Linked DNA regions of Homo sapiens: regions 1 and 2 are each linked to region 3. The links are contacts of gene promoters, found by promoter capture Hi-C in blood cells and fetal thymus (Javierre and others, 2016). All regions are on one chromosome and are shown on one strand. The core of a region is centred on a gene start or on the middle of the fragment in contact, and the rest is flanking DNA. Distances in the headings are between cores, read along the strand shown.

Region 1 (3,231 bases), core at 96-2,595, 250 kb after region 3:
AAAAGAATTCTAGGGCAATTCTCAGTTATCGGTTTTGTACAACCATGCAGACAGTGGTGTTATATACTGAGAGGGGCTAGTAGATTAGGAAGGGAGTGGGGAAGAGAATGAAACATAATGTTACATTTTGTCCATGTTGAAATAAAGGTGGTAAAACATGCAGGGAGTTATACAATAAGCTTTTGGGCTATTATAGAGGTAAGATTTGGGAGTTCTCATATAGAGCTGGGAAACAGATGAGACGAACCAGGAAGGGCACACAGATAGAGACGATACAGAAACCATCTCTTACAGACCATCTCTAAACCAAGTGTATTTAAGTCAGAAATCAGTAATAAGACGAAACTTTTCTGAAATCATCATTTTAAAGTTTAAAAATACAGTTCAAAATAACTGATCGTCTAAGAAGATACACTCAATATCAATGTAATCAGTACATGTAAGAATTTATTGGATTAAGAAATGGTAACTAAAGTGGAAATTAGGGTCTCCAGTGCTCATATTACAAAAGAATAAAGTCCAAAATTCCATGCATTAAGCATTGAAATAAAGACATTATAAAAATAACAATAGAGTAAAGCCCAAGAGAAAAAATCTTTAAAAAGCAGAAATCAATACATTCAATGCCATCCCAATTGAAATCACAACAGGATTTTTGTAAAATCTGACAAACCAATTCTAAAATTTCTGTGGAAGTGCAAATGGCCAGGAATAGCTAAGGCGTTTAAAAAAAATTATTTTGTATCTTGTTTTCAGAGACATGGTCTCACTTTGTCACCCAGGCTAGGGTGCAGTGGCGCAACCACAGCCCACTGCAGCCTCAACCACAGGCATACGTCACCATATGCTGCTTCGTTTTTTTTTTGTTTTGTTTTTTTTTTTTGTATTTTGTAGAGACAGGGGTCTCCCTATGTTGCCTAGGCTGGTCTAGAACTCCTGGCCTCAAGTGATCCACCTGCCTCAGCCTCCTAAAGCACTGGGATTGTAGGCGTGAGCCACTGTGCCCGGCCTGCCAAGACACTCTTGAATAGTTAAAGCAATGTGGGAGGACATGCTTTACAAGACCTCAAGACTTACAAAGCAATGGAAATTTAAGACATTGTTGTCCTGGTGCTAGGATAGACAAATAATCCATTGCAACAGAATATAGAGTACAGGCCGGGTGCAGTGGATCAGGCCTGTAATCCCAGCACTTTGGGAGGCTGAGGCAGGTGGATCACTTGAGGTCAGGAGTTTGTGACCAGCCTGGCCAACATGGAGAAATCTCGTCTCTTCTAGAAATACAGAAATTACATGGGCATGGTGGCACGTGACTGTAGTCTCAGTTACTTGGGAGGCTGAAGCAGGAGGATCACTAGAACCTGGAAGGCGGAGGTTGCAGTGAGCCAAGACCGGGCCACTGCACTCCAGCTTGGACAACAGAGTGAGACTCAGTCTCAAAAAAAGAAAAAAGAGTACAGAAACAGACCCACATATACAGTCACCTGATTTATGCCAAAGGTGTCCAGGCAGATAGTGAGGAAAAATATTTTCAACAAATGTTGCCAGGGCCTGGGCGTGGAGGCTCACACCTGTAACCCCAGCACTTTGGGAGGCTGAGGCAGGTGGATCACTTGAGCTCAGGAGTTTGAGACCAGCCTGGACAACATGGCAAAACCCCATCTCTACAAAAAACACAAAAAATTAGCCAGGCATGGTTGCGTGTGCCTGTAGTCCCAGCTACTCAGGAGGCTGAGGTGGGAGAATCACCTGAACCTGGGAAGCTGAGGCTGCAGTGAACCATGACTGTGCCACTGCACTCCAGCCTGGGTGACGGAGCAAGACCCTATCTAAAAAAAAAAAAAAAAAAAAAAAAAGAAAGAAAGAAAAGAAGACAAGGTTGTGTATAGAAAAAATAAAGTAAAATCTGAGCTCTATTTCACATTACATGCCAAAACAATAACATTGTTTGAACCTGGGAGGCGGAGGTTGCAGTAAGCTGAGATCACGCCATTGCACTCCAGCCTGGGTGACAAAAGCGAGACTCCATCTCAAAAAAAAAAAAATCAATTCCAAGGCCAGGTGCAGTGGCTCATGCCTGTAATCCCAGCACTTTGGGAGGCCAAGGCAGGAGGATTGCTTGAGTCCAGGTTTAAAACCAGCCTGGGCAATATGGCGAGACTCGGTCTCTACAAAAAAATAAAATATATAGCACACATATAAAAATTAGCTGAGTGGGGTGGCAAGCACCTGCAGTCTCAGATACTCAGGAGGCTAGGCTGGAAGATCTCTTGAGCCTGGAAGGTGGAGGCTGCAGTGAACCATGTTTGTGTCACTGTACTCCAGTCTGGGTGACAGAGTGAGATCCCATTTCAAAAGTATATATAAATTCCAGATGTATTATAGACTTAAATGTGAAAGGCAAAAACTATAAAGCCTTTAGAAGATAATACAGATGGCTATCTTCATGACCTTGAATTAGGAAAATAGTTCTCAAACATGAACCATGAAAATTGATAAGTCTTTCTACAACAAAGCTTAGAACTACTATTCATTTAAAACACAGCATTAAAAGAGAACAAAGGGAAAGTCACAGAGTAGAAGATATCTCCAACATACATTATCAACAAAGGGCTCAGCTAGAAGATGTAGAGAACTTGTACAAACCAATAAGAAAAAAAGAGACCACCTAGTAGAAAAATGGGTGAAGCATTCATTTTACAAAAGAGGAAATCCAAGGCTTTAATAAACATAAAAAAAGGTTTAACCTTCTTAGTAGCCAGGGAATACAAATTAAAACCACAAAGGATAGCATTACACAACCCCTAGAAAGTCTTAAATGAAAAAGACTGATAATACCAAGTGTTGAAGAGAATATGGTGCAAGAACTCTCATACTGCTGATGGAGGAGGTGGGAATTGCTACAACTGTGCTGGAAAGTATTTTGGCCCTAACTGGTAATGTTGAAGACATGCAGGCAATATGACACAGTGAGTCCACTCATGGAAATATATATGCCCACGTGGAATATGTGCACATGTACAACAGGAGATGCATTCAAGAATATTTATAGTGGCGTTATTCAAAATATGTATAATATTTCATGATAAAAAGGTTTAAAAACAGTGATTTTAAAAAATCAGTATTCAATATATGTACAGTATCAACTGTCTTCGTAAAAAAAATTAAGGATATTTTCTTTTCTTTTCTTTTTTTTTTTTTTTGAGACAGGATCTTAACTCTGTCGCCCAG
Region 2 (3,118 bases), core at 544-3,043, 200 kb after region 3:
CTCATTTTAATGTCGTTAGAGGTATATAGTAATATCTCTTTGTTTTCTTTTCTTTTTTTCTTTTTTTTTGAGATGGAGCTTGGCTCACTGCAACCTCCACCTCCCGGGTTCAAGCAATTCTCCTGCCTCAGCCTCCCAAGTGGCTGGGATTACAGGCCTGCACCACCATACCCAGCTCATTTCTTACCTATCACTTTAAACTGGAAATGGCACTGTTACTTGAAAGTGTCTCCCCTCCTACCTTCCAACACCCCACACTTTCCTGGTTCTATTTCTACCATCTAATAATTGTATTAGTCTGTTCTTGCATTGCTATAAAGAAATACCTGAGACTGGGTAACTTATAAAGAAAAGAGATTTAATTGGCTCATGGTTCTGCAGGCTGTACAAAAAGCATAACGGCTTCTGGGGAGGCCTCAGGAAACTTCCAATCCATGGCAGAAGGCAAAGAGGAAGAAGGAAGAAATTTTTTTTTTTTTTTAGACGGAGTTTCACTCTTGTCACCCAGGCTAGAGTGCAAGGGCACGATCTCGGCTCATTGCAACCTCCGCCTCCTGGGTTCAAGTGATTCCTGATTCTCCTGCCTCAGCCTCCTGAGTAGCTGGGATTACAGGTGTGCACCACCATGCCCCGCTAATTTTTGTATTTTAGTAGAAATGGGGTTTCACCATGTTGGCCAGGCTGGTCTCAAACTCCTGACCTCAGGTGATCCACCTACCTCAGTCTCCCAAAGTGCTGGGATTACAGGCGTGAGCCACCGTGCCCGGAGGCATATCTTTGTGTGTGTGTGTGTAAGATAGGATCTCGCTCTGTCACACAGGCTGGAGTGCAGTGGTGTGATCTTGGCTCACTGCAGTCTCAACCTCCTGGGCTCAAGTGATCCTCCTGCCTCAGCCCCTCAAGTAGCTGGGATTATAGACATGCACCACCATGCCCAGCTAATTTTTGTTTGTTTGTTTGTAGAGACAGGATTTCACCATGTTGCCCAGTCTGCTCAAATTCCTGGGCTCAAGCTGTCCACCTGCTTCAGCTTCCCAAAGTGCTGGGATTACAGGCATGAGCCACTGCGCCCGGACAGCAGGCACATCTTACATGGCCAGAGCAGGAGGAATTGGGGCACAGGTGCCACACACTCTTAAACAACCAGATCTCATGAGAACTCACTATGGCGATGACAGCACCAAGGGAGGATGGTGTTAAATCATGAGAAACCACCCCCATGATCCAATCCCCTCCCACCAGGCCCCACCTCCAACACTGGGGATTACAATTCAACATGAGATTTGGGTGGAGACACAGATCCAAACCATATCAGGAATTTACTCTGCAACCTTCATAGCATATTGGTGTTCCCTCAAACTCTGTACTTGGTGCTTCTCTCAAACTGTGCTCCTTCTTAGCTATCCAATTTATTCTGGTGGTTTCAGCTAGTACTGGAATGATCTTACCCCCCAAACCTTGGCCTCTGCTAGCCTTCTCTCTTGAGCTCCAGCTGGACATCTCTGTCAGTATGTTCCATAAACACTCCAAAGTCTATCTCAGTTTTTCTTCCATGAACTCATTGTCTCTCCTGTTTTGCTAATGTCTATACATGGCTCCAGCCTCATCCCAGCTGTTCATGCAGTTATCCTGGGAGCAATACTGTCTCCCTTTCTCCCACAGAACAGCACTTCTGTATCATTTATAAGTATAAATATATTTTGTTTCTTTGTTTTGAGACAGGGTCTCTCTGTCGCCCAGGCTGGAGTGCAGTGACGCAATCTCAGCTCACTGCAACCTCCACCTCCCGGGTTCAAGTGATTCTCCTGCCTCAGGCTCCCAAGTAGCTGGGATGGCAGGCACCTGCCACCATGCCCGGCTAATTTTTTTTTTTTTGTATTTTTAGTAGAGATAGGGTTTCACCATGTTGGCCAGGCTGGTCTCGAACTCCTGACCTCAAGTGATCCGCCTGCCTCGGCCTCCCAAAGTGCTACGATCATAGGCATGAGCCACCATGCCCAGCCAGCTTCTTTTTTTTTTTTTGAGACGGAGTCTTGCTCTGTTGCCCGAGCTGGAGTGCAGTGGTGTGATCTTGGCTCACTGCAACCTCCGCCTCCTGGGTTCAAGTGATTCTCCTGCCTCCGCCTCCTGAGTAGCTGGGACTACAGATGTGCACCACCACACCCAGCTAATTTTTGTATTTTTAGTAGAGATGGGGTTCACCCCATCTCTGTTGGCCAGTCTGGTCTTGAACTCCTGATCTCAGGCAATCCACCCAGCTTGGCCTCCCAAAGTGCTGGGATTACAGGCGTGAGCCACCGCGCCCAGCCTCCTTCTTCATTTTTTAACCCAGCAACTTGCACACGTCCAGGCACATAGTGTTTGTTTTTTCATTGGTTTTCCAGAAATATGCTTACTGAGGCACATAGTGTTAACTCAGGAGTGCAGTGATCTTTTTTTCATGCATTAATAAATTAACACAGTAACAGAGCTGTTCCAGGTACCCCCCACCCCAAAAGTATATCAAGCGAGACACAAAATCAGGTATCCAGTGTAGCTCTATTTAGTCAACTTTCAACAGGGCTCCATTGAGAAGATTAGTTCCTGCACATCTTTTTCATGCATCCCATTCTGATCATTGGAGATTGTTATTACAGGGGTCCGTGTCATTCGAGGATGTGGCTGTGGATTTCACCCGACAGGAGTGGCACAGACTGGACCCTGCTCAGAGGACCATGCACAAGGATGTGATGCTGGAGACCTACAGCAACCTGGCATCTGTGGGTGAGGATGATTGTCCGTGTAACTCCTGAGAGCGTGTGTTTCCTTTCTTGGTTGCTGTAACATGTGCAGCCTTGCGAGGGTTTAATGATATTAAGAGTCACAGATGAGTAATCAGTTTAGGGCACCAGAAAAAATGTGTGCGTTCTTACTTCCCCAATGAAAGGTTTAAATGGGCCCCCTTCCTTGTGCAGCTCATGAAGATGCACCTTCCTCCTCCATCAGAGGCCCTAGAGCTCAGACAACTTGGCCCACGTCCTGTGCCATTTCCCATTAACAGGCCTCTGCGTGGCCAAACCAGAGATGATCTTCAAGTTGGAGCGAGGAGAAGAGCTGTGGATATTAGAGGAGGAATCCT
Region 3 (3,066 bases), core at 567-3,066:
GGACAAGTGCCTCCAGGTATGTGGGTGGGACCTGTGGGGAGGGCATCATTGGGGACATTTCTGGGGAGGCCTCTCTAACCCTCCTCCCTTTGCATTCCTTAGCGCCAGAACCGTTATGACGGGCAAGTGGCTGTGTTTGGCTCAGACCTGCAAGAGAAGCTGGGCAAGCAGAAGTATTTCCTGGTAAGTGGTCCCCTTGGATGTCTGCTCCCCTCATCTTGGCCTCTGGCCATCACCCCTGGGGCTTCCTTCGGCATCTCAATGCAACCGGTGGCGCATTCTCTTTGCCATTCTCCTTATCTTGAAGGGAAGCCCAGTGCATCCCTCGTTTCCCCTTCTGGTGCCTCCTTCCTCACATGACTGCGTGTCATTTCTTAGAGTCCTGCAACCTGAAGATGTGGTGTTAGCCCCTCTCCCCGTCTCTCAGGGGAGTGAGGGGTGATGGGTAGCTTCACACTAACCTGCATCACCCTGACCAGCCTCTGCCTGTCTTCTTGGTTGCTTCTTAGGTGGGTGCGGGGGCCATTGGCTGTGAGCTGCTCAAGAACTTTGCCATGATTGGGCTGGGCTGCGGGGAGGGTGGAGAAATCATCGTTACAGACATGGACACCATTGAGAAGTCAAATCTGAATCGACAGTTTCTTTTCCGGCCCTGGGATGTCACGGTGAGTAGGGTAGGAGGTTGGGGCTTTGTCGTCTCACTTTCCTCCTTTTTCTTTTTTTTTTTTTTTTTGAGACGGAGTTTCGCTCTTGTTGCCCAGGCTGTAGTGCAGTGGCGTGATCTCTGGCCCACCACAACCTCTGCCTCCTGGGTTCAAGCGATTCTCCTGCCTCAGCCTCCTGAGTAGCTGGGACTACAGGCATGCGCCACCACGCCCGGCTGATTTTGCATTTTAAGTAGAGACAGGGTTTCTCCATGTTGGTCAGGCTGGTCTCGAATTCCCGACCTCAGGTGATCTGCCTGCTTCAGCCTCCCAAAGTGTTGGTATTACAGGCGTGAGCCACCACACCTCACCCCTCCTTTTTCTTGTTCCCATTCTTTCTGTCAGAGATCTTTCTGCCTCTGCCAGAAGCCCTTCTTTTTGGCCTTTCTTTCCCTCAGCTTCTGTTTTTTTTTTTTTTTTTTTTTTTTTTTTGCCTTAACCTCTTTTTAGTGCTGGTTGGGACAGTGTGTCTGGGGTCCTCAAAACTACTCTCAAGCTCAATTCACCTAGAGTACTTACAGGACTCAGCATATAGTCGTGCTTGTGGCTACAATTTATTACAGCAAAAGGATACAGACCAAAATCAGCAAAGGGAAAAGGCTGGTGCAAGTTTCTAGGAGTCTTCTCCCAGCGGGAGTTAAACAAGGCGGCCTTTATTTCCCCAGTAGCAACAGTAACTACAGAAATAACAGCAACAAGGTGTAACAAGACATGAAATGTTGCCAACCAGGGAAGCTTGTTAGACTCAGCACCACCTCTTTTACTTGGGGCTGGTCATGTAGGCGCCCCCTTCCTGGCACATAACAAAATTTCCAGACTCCCAGAAGGAAAGGTGTTCAGCGTAAACTGTATTGTTTGCATGAACGGTTTAGGCACAGTGAACCACTGATACCAGGTAGGGAGCGGTGGGAACCTTCCTGAATTCCAAGTTCCCAGACACCAGCCAAGGAGCCGACCTTGGAAGCAGGCCTTTCCAAGGGTTGTAGTTTCAGTCTCCTAGGCTTACACTTCTCTGCACATATGGAAACTGGGTTGGTTATGCAGGGTTCTCTGAGAAGCTTTCTGTAAGGAGCAGTGTCGTTTTTGCTTACCCAGGATTTATTCCCCCTTTCATTTATTTCATTTATTCACCAGATAGTTTTAGTACTGTTTTAGGTATTGGGGATATACCAAGGAATAAAACAAGATTCCTGGAGGGAGAGGGGAACGGACAGCAAACAATAGACACAATACGATCGTGAGGTATATAGTTAATGTTGGTGATGAGTGCTCCTCAAAGGAAACAACTAAAACCAGACAAGGGAAGTCGGGGTGTCAGGGAGAATGGTTTGTAGTATTGATGACAATGGTTAAGGAAGGCCTGAGTTCTGCAAAGACCTCAAGGATATGAGGGACTAGAGTGCCCTCTGCTGTGGAAGAGCCTGCGCAAAGATCCTGAGGTGGGAGGGGTCAGGGAGCCAACTCATTTTACGGTAAGTGGAGGTGGGATCCAGGGGAGGATTCTGAGCAGAGGAGGGACGTGGCCCAATTTGGGCTTTGAAAGGATCCTGCTTGTCTGTGTGCCAGCATCCTGGTGGTGGTTGGGGGAGTCTGCATCAATCCTGGGTGCTGTTACCTGAAAAAATAGCAGGTGTTAGACGAAAGAACAGATGTCTGGCCCATTGTCTCCAGTCTGTTCCTGTCCACAGCTTCCCTTTATGCTGAGCCCCTGCCACATGCATCATCATCCTGGCCATGTGGCATTGTCACAGACCGTCTCTCCTGCTAGCCTCCTAACTCAGGGCCTGGGTCTTCCCCAGCATTAAGTAAATCAGTCTCAGGCAGACAGCCCTTTATAGGTGTTTGGGCCAGGTGCGGTGGCTCACGCCTGTAATCCCAGCTCTTTGTGGGGCCGAGGTCTTTGAGCTCAGGAGTTCAAGACCAGCCTGGGCAGCATGACAAAACCCTGTCTCTACCAAAAATACAAAAATTAGCCACGCATGGTGGCACACACCTGTGGTCCCAGCTACTCGGGAGGCTGAGGTGGGAGGATCGCTGGAGCCTGGGAAGTTGAGGCTGCAGTGAGCCGTGATCATGCCACTGCATTCCAGCCTGTGTGATGGAGAGAGACCCTGTCTCAAAAAAAATAAAGATGTTTGTTGGGTGAATGCACAAATAAGTGAGCTTTGTTCCCCCATCCCCACCCTGGAACTGCACTTTCTTAACCCTTTAGAAGTTAAAGTCTGACACGGCTGCTGCAGCTGTGCGCCAAATGAATCCACATATCCGGGTGACAAGCCACCAGAACCGTGTGGGTCCTGACACGGAGCGCATCTATGATGACGATTTTTTCCAAAACCTAGATGGCGTGGCCAATGCCCTG

The links. The method cuts DNA at HindIII sites, captures the fragments that hold promoters and counts their contacts. A CHiCAGO score of 5 or more calls a contact.
Region 1: a fragment that was not itself captured here is called in contact with the fragment with the promoter of INE1 in region 3 in 2 of 17 cell types (naive CD8 T cells and naive CD4 T cells); the score reaches 5.2 in naive CD8 T cells.
Region 2: a contact is called between a fragment that was not itself captured here and the fragment with the promoter of INE1 in region 3, in 2 of 17 cell types (non-activated CD4 T cells and total B cells). The highest score is 5.6, in non-activated CD4 T cells.

The regions. Positions count from the first base shown.
Region 1 is chrX:47,457,912-47,461,142 of GRCh38, forward strand. All of the region lies in intron 2 of ZNF41 (zinc finger protein 41), which reads right to left. Among named protein-coding and RNA genes, the nearest start is that of LINC01560, 23 kb to the right of the region's middle. The HindIII fragment of the contact is 2,337 bases long and covers 178-2,514 here.
Region 2 is chrX:47,407,640-47,410,757 of GRCh38, forward strand. ZNF157 (zinc finger protein 157) reads left to right here. Exons shown (of 4, transcript NM_003446.4): 2 at 2,637-2,763; 3 at 3,041-3,118. Among named protein-coding and RNA genes, the nearest start is that of SNORA11C, 21 kb to the left of the region's middle. The HindIII fragment of the contact is 6,293 bases long and covers 1-3,118 here.
Region 3 is chrX:47,203,032-47,206,097 of GRCh38, forward strand. It overlaps INE1 (inactivation escape 1), which reads left to right and starts at 1,817. Exons shown (of 1, transcript NR_024616.1): 1 at 1,817-2,830. It overlaps UBA1 (ubiquitin like modifier activating enzyme 1), which reads left to right. Exons shown (of 26, transcript NM_003334.4): 12 at 1-16; 13 at 103-183; 14 at 510-665; 15 at 2,917-3,066. LOC105373194 (a long non-coding RNA gene) reads right to left here. Exons shown (of 3, transcript XR_949047.4): 3 at 1,237-2,319. The HindIII fragment of the contact is 2,713 bases long and covers 1,761-3,066 here.